Linked DNA regions of Homo sapiens: region 1 is linked to region 2. Evidence: promoter capture Hi-C in human tissues and cell types (Jung and others, 2019). All regions are on one chromosome and are shown on one strand. The core of a region is centred on a gene start or on the middle of the fragment in contact, and the rest is flanking DNA. Distances in the headings are between cores, read along the strand shown.

Region 1 (6,168 bases), core at 1,217-3,716, 130 kb before region 2:
CAGAGCATTTAGGACTCAGATGGTTTTCAGAAAAAGGATATTTGTTCCTAGCCTATAAAAGTAGTATGTACTTACACAAGCTTGGACAATTCCAAATATAAGGAAGAAAACCATTTAAAATCCTACCACTCAAGCATGCCAATATTAACACCTTGACATGTTTTATCTATCACTTTTATAATATTGAGATACTTTCATATTGTATAATTTTATGGTTTCCCCATGTAACATTGCAGCAGCCTTCTCCACAGTTCAGAAAAACTCCCCACAATCCTAGTTTTTGAAGGCTGTGTAGTTTTCCATCATAAGGATGTATATGGTGTATTATTCATGCCCTTATTTCAGAGCGGATGTAGCATAATGGTTAGGACTGTAGGCATTGGTGTCAAGACTACCTGGGGCCGCACCCTCACTGCACCATTCTGTAGCTGTAATACCCTGAGCAAGTGACTTAATCTTTCTGAACCTCATTTGCTCTGTGAAATGAGGTAAGGGTGGTACCTATCACATTCGTTTTTGTGTGGCTAGTATAATACATGTAAAACATTTAGCACTGTGCCCGGCACATGGGCATTCAGTAAATATTAGTTGCTGTCTTCACTGTCATCATCGGCAAAGATTATGCTTTGATAGTTGTCTTTGTACATAGACAAAGACCTTCAGATAATTTCTTAAGGTTGGATTTCCAGAAGTGGAGTTACTGAGCTAAAGAAAAGGGTACATTTTTAATTATCTGCAAAGCTAAGAGAAATGCCTGATAGTTTCAATTTTTCTTAACTTCCAAGTAAATATGACCTCTTAAAAGAGAGAACCTAACAAATTGGCCCAAAGGGCACCTAAATAGAAAAACCACGGGTCAGCTTCACACGCACAGCCTTGATTCGTGCTCGTCTTTAGGATCGCCACACGGATCCTCTACCTCAGGCTTGACAAACACCCCCCCTTGAACCTGCACATCTGAGTCTCTTACAAGTACAGCCTTCTAATTACCCCCCTGGTGAGCAATTGCTAGCTCCTACCACCAGGCACTGACTTTCAAAGCGTTAACGGCTTTATGACCCTGAAGCGCCAAGCGATTAAGTGTAGGCAGAGGAGCTCTGAACATATGTGTATGAGGCCCCAAGCCAGGGCTCTGCAGAGGACACTGAGCCCTTGTGCTGATTGCTCTCTTCCTCTCTCATTGGTAATATCCTGGAGTCTTCTGTAGGAGGTTTTGTTGCATCAAACATTATTGTTTTGCTAATATCCTTACAGTCCAACCAAGCCCTGATGATTATGGGACTGAGCTATTGAGACGCTATCATGAAAACCTCTCTGAGATTTTCACAGACAACCAGATTTTATTAAAGATGATCTCACACATGACAAGTTTAGCCCCTGGAGAAAGAGAGGTAAGAGAGGGAGAGAAACAGAGGGAGGGGAGGGTAAAATGAGAAAGAAGGAAAAAATATGAATACACACACACATTTATATTTTCTGTAAATATACATATGTAGCCATGTTGAGAATTGCTAAGTAGAGGAGAAATAGAAGGTATCTCAGTTTCTAAGGTGGAATAACAAATAGAATAGTTCTAATTTCTGTGGTAATAAGGAAAGGCATTCAAAAGGAGAAATGAAGAACTTTGTCATGTATAAGAAATCTCTCAGACTGAGAGGTGAGGATGTTGAAAAACTCCTTCCCCAAACATATTCACTGTAACCCAATATCTAGACTTGCAGCTCTGCAGCTGGGCTAGTGGCTGGAGAGTCTCTTACGTGAGTGTTTGTGTTACATCTTGAAGGTCATGGAGAAGCTTGTGAAACGTGACTCTGGTTCAGGTGGTTTCAATTCTCTGATATCAGCAGTTCTAGAAAAGCAGACTCTCTCTGCCACAGCCATTTGGCAACTGCTGCTGGTGGTTCAGGAGACAAAGACCTGTCCATTGGACCTGCTCATGGAGGAAATACGAAGGGAGCCTGGTGCCGATGCTTTCTTCCGGGCAGGTAAGTTACCTGCCCTCTGGGGGGGTTTTGCCCCCACTAGAGATGACTGTCAGTCTTCCTAGAAAATAGGAAGAGCTCTCTTAACGGTAGTCACCTACATCCCTACTATTAGAAGTAAGGACTGGCAGTTTTGTTCAAGGACACAAGAGTTTGTAAACCTTTTAAAAAATAGATCCAGTAATTATCTTAAGCTTACATTCATTATTATACTCTGATTACAGTGCTATTTGCCGTTTTCCCCACTGCCAACCTCAGATAGGAGATAGGGGAAATGCATTTTCATTATGAAGAGTTGAGTGGAGGAAGGGTGTAGGAAAAAATGGTGCTCATTGTTTGCCTAATGAGTTTTTGATCCCCCTTTTTTTCAGTGACCACCCCAGAACATGCCACTTTAGAAACAATCCTGAGGCATAACCAGTTGATCTTGGAGGCCATCCAACAGAAGATTGAGTACAAGCTCTTTACCTCGGAGGAGGAGCACCTGGCAGAGACTGTGAAAGAGGTGTGGTGGGAATAAAAAGCGAAATGCCAGAGAGTTTTACAGTTGTTGCCTGGGACTGTCTTCATTCCTAAGAGAGGAACCAATAGTTGGTTGGGTTGTTTTTCCTTCTTTTTTTTTCCTTTTTCTCTTTTGAGACAGAGTCTTGCTCTGTCGCCCAGGCTGCAGTGCAGTGGCACGATCTTGGCTCATGGCAACCTCTGCCTTCCGGGTTCAAGCGATTCTCCTGCCTCAGCCTCCCAAGTAACTGGGATTACAGGTGCGCACCACCGTGCCCTGCTAATTTTTTGTATTTTTAGTGGAGACGGGGTTTCGCCATGTTGGCCAGGCTGGTCTCGAACTCCTGGCCTCAAGTGATTCACCCATCTCAGCTTTGCCAGAGTGCTGGGATTACAGGCGTGAGCCACTGTGCCTGGCCAGAACCAATATCTGTACCCCTTGCTAGGCTAATGCTTCCTAACACGTTTGCTCTTTTAATCCTTCCAGCTCTACATGGCAGGTGATGTTATCACATTTTATAGACAAGGGTTCTCAGGCCCCAAAGGGTTAAGTTACCTGTCTAAAATGCTCTGGCAGGGAGGAGATGATGTCAGGATTTGAACCCAGCTTCCTATGACTCAAACCAATTTATTCCATTTATCTAAACCTGGTATCCCCTGGAGCCATGATACTGTTCTCTTACCTGTTCTAAGAAGCAGCTTCTCTCAGATGAAGGAAAGTAAAACTGGTCTTATTACATGTTCTATTCTGGCTTCTAGAAAGAGCCAAGATAAACATAGATAAAACAAAGCTTTTGCCCATATTGGGTAGCAAATAGTGCCAGCTCATTTTCTGTAAGCCTTCACACAATGTGGCCAGCATCCCAGGAATACCAAGTGGGGACTGGGGGAACTCATGGGTGTCCAGCCCAGGATCATTTGCATCCTGAGTGGGGAAGAACAAGAAAGGAACATGAAATTAAACTACAGATTCAAATGTAGTGCCCTTTTGATTCAGGTAGGTGTGGAAGGTGTGCAGAAGGGCGGGTTTCTAACTCTCTCTGTGCAGGTGACAGCCACATGTTGGTCTGACTCAGATGGGAAGAAGATGGCACACATTTCTGTGGGGCTTCAGAGGAAAGACTCATCTGTTAGACTCTCTCCAGCACGCCGTAACTTCAGAGATGGGGCTTCTGCAGTTGATCAGTTTTAGCCTCACTAATTAGTCTCATGCCTGCCTCCAGGGACATCAGGTTTATTTAGATAGACTTGAAAAGAGCAGAAATAAAATATCTTCCAAAATGAAAATTCCGTTTGGCCATCTGTGGATGGTTTAGCTTTATTTTCTCAGTGTACCGACTCTTTCTGCTGATAGCTCTAACATTCTGAAAGAGGACGACGGCTTTGAAATAATATTCTTGGACTCTTTAAAGCTTCTATTTGAACCTTCTTTAAAACGCTGAGTTTCTTTGTGAAAGAAAATGACGTTTAAATGGGTACATCTAAGTATCTAAAAATATGAAGCCACTGATCATGCAGAATTACTTCCAGACATTGAGACAATTATATATTATGAAAACTTATTCTGATTTTCAAGACAGACACACCGACGACCAAATCCTATAGCTTTTCAAGCTTTTAGTATTAAGATCCAGAAAAGGTCTTTGGGAGACTCCTAGTTTCTGATAAGCTATTTCTTATAGAAAATGCTTTATGCTTCCCTGCATGTATCTTCTTTGTATTTGCACATTTATCTGGATACATGCTTCTTTTTTTCTGTTTTGTTAGTTTTCCTGTTCTTTGGCAAACAGAGCTGTCCACTACATTTATCACAAGGCGATGTATAAACTGCTTATAAATGGAGCAGTGCCTTCCTGGGATTAGCTTTTTTTTTTTTTTTTTAGGTTGAAAACCATGGGGAAAATCTGCTGAGATTAACCCCACACCTTTGTCTCCTGGTATTCATTTAGATTCTGAGCATTCCCTCTGAGACAGCCAGCCCTGAAGCTTCCCTGAGAGCAGTGCTGAGCAGAGCCATGGAAAAATCAGTCCCGGCCATTGAAATATGCCACCTCCTGTGCAGTGTCCACAAATCTTTTCCAGGCCTGCAGCCTGTCATGCAGGAGTTGGCATACATTGGTAAGGAACGGGCCAGGTGGGAAGGGGGTTCCTATCAGCACACCAGGTTGTTTCTTGAAGAAAGAGACAGCATTTCATATCATAGTTTATCACAACCTTAAGTTACGTATTCATTTTATATGCTCTGAATACCTAAAAAAGTCATGAGACATAGGGGGAAAATGTTCTTTGTGTTTATTGGAAAGTAAGGAGGACAATGATATTACTTCAGAGTGTTTTTGAGGATCTCAAGTAGTCTCTAGTCTCCTGTAAGAAGTGTGTTAGAAACGTTATAAAGCAAAATAGAAACAGAGAGTTCGCAGAGCCACGAGATGTCTCTTTTATGCAGGTGTCCTTACTAAGGAAGATGGAGAGAAGGAAACGTGGAAGGTGAGTAATAAATTTCACCTTGAAGCCAACAACAAAGAAGATGAAAAGGCAGCCAAAGAAGACAGCCAGCCTGGGGAACAGAATGATCAAGGAGAGACTGGTTCCTTGCCAGGACAGCAAGAGAAAGAGGCTTCAGCCTCCCCAGACCCTGCCAAGAAGAGCTTCATCTGTAAGGCCTGCGACAAAAGCTTCCATTTCTACTGCCGCCTAAAGGTGCACATGAAGCGCTGCCGGGTGGCTAAGAGCAAACAGGTGCAGTGTAAGGAGTGCAGTGAGACCAAGGATTCAAAGAAAGAGCTGGACAAACATCAGCTGGAGGCCCATGGTGCAGGTGGAGAGCCCGATGCCCCCAAGAAGAAGAAGAAGAGGCTTCCAGTGACATGTGACCTCTGTGGCAGAGAATTTGCCCATGCCTCAGGTACGTTCAAGAAGGCAAAGGAACAGAGGATGATAATTGTGGGTTTTATAGCTTGGATTTCAGGCCTTTCCCTTAGTTGTGTGCAGTGAGGGCTGTGGGTGGGCTTAGAAAATAGAGCAGGTTCCTACAGAGGCAGGGTAATATTTTAAGAGCATGGGCTTTGGAATCAGCCCCCGAGCTTTGATTTCCCCAAATCTATTAAAGCAGCACCCTGATACCACTTACTCTGTTGCATTGTTATGAAGACTTAAGGTAACAGAGCTAAACACCAGTGCACTGCCTGTAACAGAGTGAGCACACAATAACTTACAGCTCTTACTGTTTACAGTGATAACCAGCTACTTAATACCTGGCTCATGTTTCCATGTGCCACTTGTTTCTTGGTAACAAACAAGAGTCATGGAAATCATGGGATGTACAGTCAGAATGGTTTCCCTTGTCCTAGAATTTGGATAAACCTAATGAAATATAAAAGCAAGTTGAGTTTCCCTAGTTCTGGGTGGCAGGGTCCTATTTAAGAGAGAGAAGGGAATGGGGAAGATAAGCCCAGCATTACTTTCCACCGGCTCCATCCAGGAGTAAGGCCAGGTGACTTTGGGGATGCCAGTTGGTGGGTAGAGAGCAGCGTGGCTGTGTGCAGTGGGTACCAGCGTGGCCTGGCACCCTGGGCTTCATGCTGTGCTTCCTCTGGAGGCCTGGGCTGAGACAGTGCTCTTGGTATCCTGTGCTAGATTCCTAACACTGATTAGTAGCATCTCTTCTGGCCTCTGGTGTGCTTGG
Region 2 (6,944 bases), core at 4,445-6,944:
TCTTGGTTCACTGCAACCTCCACCTCCTGGGTTCAAGCAATTCTCCTGCCTCAGCCTCCCGAGTAGCAGGGATTACAGGCATGTGCCACTAGGCCAACTAATTTTATACTTTTAGTAGAGACAGAGTTTATCCATGTTTGTCAGGCTGGACTCAAACTCCCGGCCTCAGTTGATCCACCCTCCTCGACCTCCCAAAGTGCTGGGATTACAGGCGTGAGCCACTGCTCCCAGCCAGGGGATACTGTCTTCTAAGAGCCTATTTCTGGAGGGACCGTGGCTGGGAGAGTTCTGCTGTCCCCAAGTCTGCCTCCGCTCCTGTGAACCCCTCATGATCTAAACACCTCACCTCCAAGGGTGGCTCCAGTCTCCAAAGATTCAATTCCTTTGTGTGTGAGTGGTGGGGGAATTGGTTAACCTTAACCAACTGGTACTCAACTGAAGAAAAAGAAATCTGTTCTACTATTGGAGCCAAAACTGACAGCAAAAGACTATTGTGAAACGGTAATACAGTCTTTCACGTGGCGCTGTTTGAAGAATTTTTCCACCATTTACAATGGTGATACTCACCATTTACAATGTTTGCCTCGTATGCCGATTTTGCAACACAACCCTTGAATGGGATGTGACTGCCATAAAGAATTCAAGTCATTTAAAAATTATTTTTTGGTTATTTATTTGACCTTTGATCCCACTCTGAGACTGAACCTCATGGATCATAACTGTGCAAGCATGGCTAGGAATTTCCTCTCTTCCCCACATCTCCTGCCTCCCGTCTAGGAGTCTGGGCTCTGGAGAAATGGAAGAATATGCCCTTCCTCTCCGCCTGAAGGTGTCCCTGTTGTGACATGCACAGGGCCATTGCTGACCCTTTTATTTCTCACACTAATGATATGCGCATTAGTATCGATGTCTTTTATTTCTTGGGAAGTGTTTATACTCTTGCAACAGCCTGATAAGTAAAATCATCCAACACTTGGAAATAAGGCAAATAGATAACCGGTGTCCTTTCAAAGTCAAATGAGAGCTGTATCTAACAAACCCTGCTAAGGGTCATCTGACACTCTAGGGGAATGTCACTTGGCTTGACTTATTATTTACTATTGATTAGAGCCCAGATTCAGTAAAGATAGCTGTTAACTGGTAGAAAACTGTTAAGTTGCAAATTATTTTTGTCTAGTAGAGATGCAAATGATTTCTTTTCAATAGAGAAGATAGCCCCAACATGATGATTTTATTGCCCTATAGAACACTAACCAGTTTTGTATCTAATTTAGCAATTTTATGAATATTCCAGAATTCTTGTTGTTTTAACTGACTCTCTCTGTCTCCATATATAGGTATACATATATATTTTTTTCCATATCCATTGAACTAGCTTTGTCACCCAGCTGGTTCCTCCATTAACAACCTACAAGAGGACACTGACACATTCCCACACTGTATTTCTATAGGAACTGGGTATTCAATATTTTGAAAACTAGACTTTGAGAAGCTTTTCACAGTATCTGATTTTTCCTCTTGCCAACTCTTGCCCCTGTCTGTGTGACCCGGGCAAGTCTTTTTTTGTCTCTGGTCCTTTGTGTCTTCAGAGTAAAATAGGGCACGCAGGGCTGGCGTTTCTGCCTCGGGCATGTCATGTTTCTAACTCCTCTGGCAGGCAAGCAGGGCTGACGCAATGCAGTCAAAGAAGATGGATACTGGGCCGGGCGCGGTGGCTCACACCTGTAATCCTAGCACTTTGGGAGGCCGAGATGGGCAGATCACCTGAGGTCAGGGGTTTGAGACCAGCCTGGGCAACATGGCAAAACCCCGTCCCTACTAAAAATACAAAAATTAGCCGGGCGTGGTGGTGCACACACGCCTGTAATCCCAGCTACTTGGAAGGCTGAGGCAGGAGAATCTCTTGAACCCAGGAGGCAGAGGTTGCAGTGAGCTGAGATCGAGCCACTGCACTCCAGCCTGGGCAACAAAGTGAGACTGTCTCAAAAAAAAAAAAAAAAAAAGAAGAAGAAGAAGAAGAAGAAGATGGATACTGGGCTGGGCGCGGTGGCTCACGCCTGTAATCCCAGCACTTTGGGAGGCCGAGATGGACAGATCACCTGAGGTCAGGAGTTTGAGACCAGCCTGGGCAACATGGCAAAACCCCGTCTCTACTAAAAATACAAAAATTAGCTGGGCATGGTGGTGCATGCGTGCCTGTAATCCCAGCTACTTGGAAGGCTGAGGCAGGAGAATCTCTTGAACCCAGGAGGCAGAGGTTGCAGTGAGCTGAGATCCAGCCACTACACTCCCACCTGGGCAAAAAAATGAGACTCTGTCTCAAAAGAAGAAGAAGGAGGAGGAGGAGGAGGAGACTGGAAGGGATGTTAGAGGCCATTTGGGGCAGCCTTCCCACCTCCCACCCACTCCCTCATCTTGGTAGATGGAGAAAGTGGGGTTCAGAAAGATGAGATAACTTGCCCAGGGTCACACTGTGAGTTAGGTATGGGCTGAGCAGATGAGATTCCAGCTCCACGAACTTTCTGAATCCAGGGAGCATGGGAGGGGCTGTCAGGGGGAGCTCTGGGCCCCCACCCTTCAAGCCAGTATCCCCATTTTTATCTGTTTGACATACATCAGATGCCACACAAGATTGCAAATGAAAAAGAAGTCCCCAAAGCTCAAAAACCCTGGCTCTAGACCATCCTTCATCTGCCCACTTCAACAGCCTTCCCTTATCTCCTCCCTCCTCCTCCTCTTTTCCTCCTCCTGCCTCTGGCAAAATTTTCAGAAAACAAACAAACAAACAAAAACATGCTCATGAGAAGAAGCAGACAGATGTGGTCAGCCCAGGCCTGAACACATTGGTCTCCAGTCTGGGAGAGACAGAGCCTCTCTATCTAAAGAAAAGCATTCTCAGGGTCCAAGCTGACAATGATGCAGTGTGCCGTGCTGACAGGTAATGAGCATCCCATCAGTTAAGGTGAGTAAGGCTAGATGATCTGTTCAAACACTAGCAGCAATTGTCTCTAGATGGTAGAATTCACAGGCTTTTGTTGCTGGGTTTTGTTTTTTGTTTTTTTTTGAGATGGTGTTACAGGATCTTTGGGGTGTCATTTTCTGGCCGGAAACCTCTGTGGCTGGTGGCACCTTTGCCCAAGTTTTGCTCAGGCCCACTGGGCTTGTTTCACTCACTCCTCCTGGCAGGCAGCACTCAGCTCACATTACCAGCCTGGGTTCCACATCTGCCCAGGGCAAGTCAGGCATGGAACAGTGAAGGGTGTGTGAGTGAACATGGGGTCTGGCCACTGCACACAGTCAGACATGCCGGCTGCTGCAGCGGGGTGAGCAGCTCCAGGTGCCAGCATGGGCGCCAGCTCTCTGAGAGGTTGTGGCTAGACCAAGTACACCACAAGCAGCTTCCACAGCTGGCACCGGGGAACACGGTGGCACCCAGAAGCTTCGAGATGCCAGGAACCACAGGGCCCCGAAAAGGGAGTCACAGCTCCAGCTTGGGGAGCTCCCAGGTCTGGGTTCCCCAGAGGGCCGCAGCTCTTCTTTCCTTCCCTTCACCTGCATCATGGCAAGCAAGGGGCATGTTTCAGCCTTGTTTGTGTTACAGCTCTTTCAGCCCCACCATTTGATGGGTCCCAAGTTCTTATCCTGCAACCAGGAAGAATGAGGTATGCAGACAAGTGGGGAGTGAGCAAGACGAAGAGGAGCTTTACTGAGCGATAGAACAGCTCAGCCTCCTGCAGAGCCTCCCTCAGGGGGCAGCTCCTTTCCACAGCCAGGGTGTCCTGATGAGTGTTCAGCTGCTAGCAGAGAGGAGACCCTGGAATGGGAAGCTCCTCTCTGCAGGCAGGTCATCCTGTCGACTTTCCAGCTCTCAGAAGAGGGAAGACCCTGGAATGGGAAGCTCCTTTCTGCAGGCAAGTTGTTCTGCCATCTCTGCAGCTCTCAGCAGAGAGGAGGCCCTGGAGCGGGTAGCTCCTCTCGGCAGCTGGTCATCCAATGTCTGCCCAGCTCTGGCTGAGCCTGAAGCTTTCATGAGCCTCAGAGAGGAGGAAGTGCATACTGATTGGTCCATGGGTGGCTATAGGCAAGCCCAGAAAATACACCATAAGTTCCCACTCTGGTGTGTGGGACTGGCAGCCTGGCCCCCAGCCTTGAGGCCCTCCCTGGCTTGAAGGTAGGGCCTCACCAGGGACCCATCCCCTTCCACCCAGGAGCCTGTCTGTCTCCTGCTGCTGTTCATGGTGCCCAGGCTGTTCATGCCAAGGAGCGTCTGCAGGCCAGTGCCGAGCTGCCCTCAGTTTCCCCTTGGCTTTCCTTCCATGCTAGTCAGTGCCCAAAGTCCAGAGGGGGCCAAGGCAGCAGGGGTCTAGTGTGTCAGCACTGCCCCAAGCATGCCCACACCCAGCCAGGCTGCGACAGCACCCAGGCTCAGCACCAACTTTGCTCTAAGATCAGAGTGGGCGCCAAGAGGAGGGAGAAGCCAGGCAGTGGGAGCAGACACTTCTGAGCCTGAAGGGTGGGGCGGGGGGCCTTCCCGGGCCCCCAAGATTGCAGGGATGCCTGGGTCCACAGCTGCAGTTTAGGCAGCTGCAGCTGCATGGGGGATGGCGGGGGCCCCCACCTGCTCCATGAAGCAGGATCAGCTGTGGTTTGGCAGCTGCAGTGGTTCCCAGGAGGGCGGGGTTCCCACTGTCCCCAGCTCCCACTGGCTACATGGAGCATGCAGCCCTGGCCGTGCCTCCCTGCTGCAGCCAGTGTGATGACAGCAGCCATTCCAGACGGCCCGCCATTGCCATCTCTTTTTTTTTTTTTTTTTTTTGAGATGGGGTCTTGTTCTGTCTCCCAGGCAGGAGTGCAGTGGTAAGATCAAAGCTCACTGCAGCCTCAACCTCCTGGGCTCTAGCAATCCTCCCAGCTCAGCCTCCCAAATAGCTGGGACTACACAGGTGCATGCTACCACACCTGGCTATTTTTTAAATTTTTAGTAGAGATGGAGTTTCACCATGTTGGCCAGGCTGGTCTCGAACTCCTGACCTCAAGTGATCCGCCTGCCTTGACCTCCCAAAATGCTGGGATTACAGGCGTGAGCCAAAGCACCTAGACTTGCTGTTTTTTTAAATGTTGGCAAAAGCTAGTGACTAAGTGTTCACCATGTGCCAAGTGTTTTGTATGTGCAAGTCATTAAAATGTTATAATAATCAGATGATATAGGACCCCGTTCCCAGTGTACAGATAAAACTGAGGGCTCAGGAGGTCAAGTAATTTCCCAAAGACATGCAACTAGGAAGCAGCAAGTCTAGAAACAGATTGCTGTGCTTCCTTCTCACCAATGCACTGTTCTTTCTTCTTTGTATTTTCCAAGCTTTTGGCAATGAATTGCATGTCACTTTCATAATCATGAAAAGTCCTACAAGGGACAGATTTTTTTAAAGATTCCTTCCGCTCTGGTGTTCTGTGCTTCGCTGGTTCTCAGAACCTCACCCTGCACGGCCTCCACCCCACATCCTCACAGGCACTGGCCTCACTGCCCCCACTCCCACACCAGCTGTTGCTGGGGCAGGACGCCCAATGTCCCAGTCTTGCTGAAGTCTGCTTGAAATGTCCCTGGTGAGCTTCTGGCCACTGGGGAAGTTCAGGGGGCAGGTCTGAAGAAGGGGAAGTAGGAAGGGATGTGAAACTTGGCCACAGCCTGGAGCCACTCCTGCTGGGCAGCCCACAGGGTCCCTGGGCGGAGGGCAGGAGCATCCAGTTGGAGTTGACAACAGGAGGCAGGTGAGGCCAGAGTCCCAGAGGGAGGGGGCTGCAGAGTTCTGGGACCCAGGGGAGCTGGCCCAGGAGGCTGGGCAGCTGAGGCAGGGAGGGAGGGAAATAACTGTGCCTGATTCTAGGACAGGGATGGGGGTGCAGCACTGATCCAGGACCCAGAATGGGTGAGTGGAGGGACCTTAACTCCTTGAGCCAGGGCTTGGGGGAGGGTGAGAGGCGATGAGTTAGACCTAACAACTGAAGGGTAAGACCAGGGTTCCTGGGTCCTGGCCCCATAACACATAAGAAACCAGGAAAAGCCTGGGGTGCTAGAGCTGGCAGTGGGACCCAGCAGAGGGGACTGTAGGGGCAGCCAGTCACCCATGCTCAGGTGGATGCTGAAAGGCGCTGAGCATGCAGAAGAGTGAGCAGGTGTCGCTTTGGGCGTTTGTGAATTCCTGTGTGTATGCAGAGCTCCACCATCTGGGTGAGCCAGTGTTAATTAAATAAGGAGCAGGCGCTCAATACATATTTGTTCAATGAAATCGATTACCTGTGGGAGTGTATGAATGTGTGTGTCCGTGCAAGTGAGGGACAGGGTCTATTTGGGTATCAGTTGTGTGTCTAGGGGGGTATAGTGGATTTCTGAGTTTGCCTACTGTGTTTTGTAGGTGCGTGGATGAGAGCTGTGTTTGTGTGAGTGTGTGAAGATGTGGGTGTGCTCTGTTGCATGTGTGGATGTGTGTGAGTTTGTGGTTCTGTGTATATGCGTGGGGTCCTGGGGCTGGATTGAGAGTGGACATTGAGAGCCCCAGAGGGTGCATGTGCACTTGGGGAGGACTGTGCATATATCATTGTGTGCATGGGACTCAAGGGTGGGAGCTGGGTGTGAGTGTGATGTCCAACCTGCCCAGGCCCTCCCGTGTCTCCACAGAGGCATCATGGAGGGTCCCCGGGGATGGCTGGTGCTCTGTGTGCTGGCCATATCGCTGGCCTCTATGGTGACCGAGGACTTGTGCCGAGCACCAGACGGGAAGAAAGGGGAGGCAGGAAGACCTGGCAGACGGGGGCGGCCAGGCCTCAAGGGGGAGCAAGGGGAGCCGGGTAAGCACCCTTCCTCGGGACCCAGCCCCTTGGACCTTGGCCTGACTTGGCCTCCAGGGTGAAGGCTTGGGGTGGCACTGAGAATCAGGAGTCCGTCT

What was found. The method cuts DNA at HindIII sites, captures the fragments that hold promoters and counts their contacts. A contact is called where the count stands out against the background at its distance.
Region 1: a contact is called between a fragment that was not itself captured here and the fragment with the promoter of C1QA in region 2, in 5 of the 25 tissues and cell types used here (H1 embryonic stem cells, aorta, hippocampus and 2 more).

What each region holds. Positions count from the first base shown.
Region 1 is chr1:22,506,747-22,512,914 of GRCh38, forward strand. ZBTB40 (zinc finger and BTB domain containing 40) reads left to right here. Exons shown (of 18, transcript NM_014870.4): 7 at 1,255-1,391; 8 at 1,784-1,985; 9 at 2,354-2,487; 10 at 4,433-4,601; 11 at 4,930-5,388. Among named protein-coding and RNA genes, the nearest start is that of EPHA8, 54 kb to the right of the region's middle. The HindIII fragment of the contact is 3,059 bases long and covers 938-3,996 here.
Region 2 is chr1:22,630,934-22,637,877 of GRCh38, forward strand. It overlaps C1QA (complement C1q A chain), which reads left to right and starts at 5,695. Exons shown (of 3, transcript NM_015991.4): 1 at 5,695-5,769; 2 at 6,677-6,846. The coding sequence starts at 6,684. It overlaps MIR6127 (microRNA 6127), which reads right to left and starts at 2,433; the gene lies at 2,325-2,433. The HindIII fragment of the contact is 11,741 bases long and covers 4,692-6,944 here.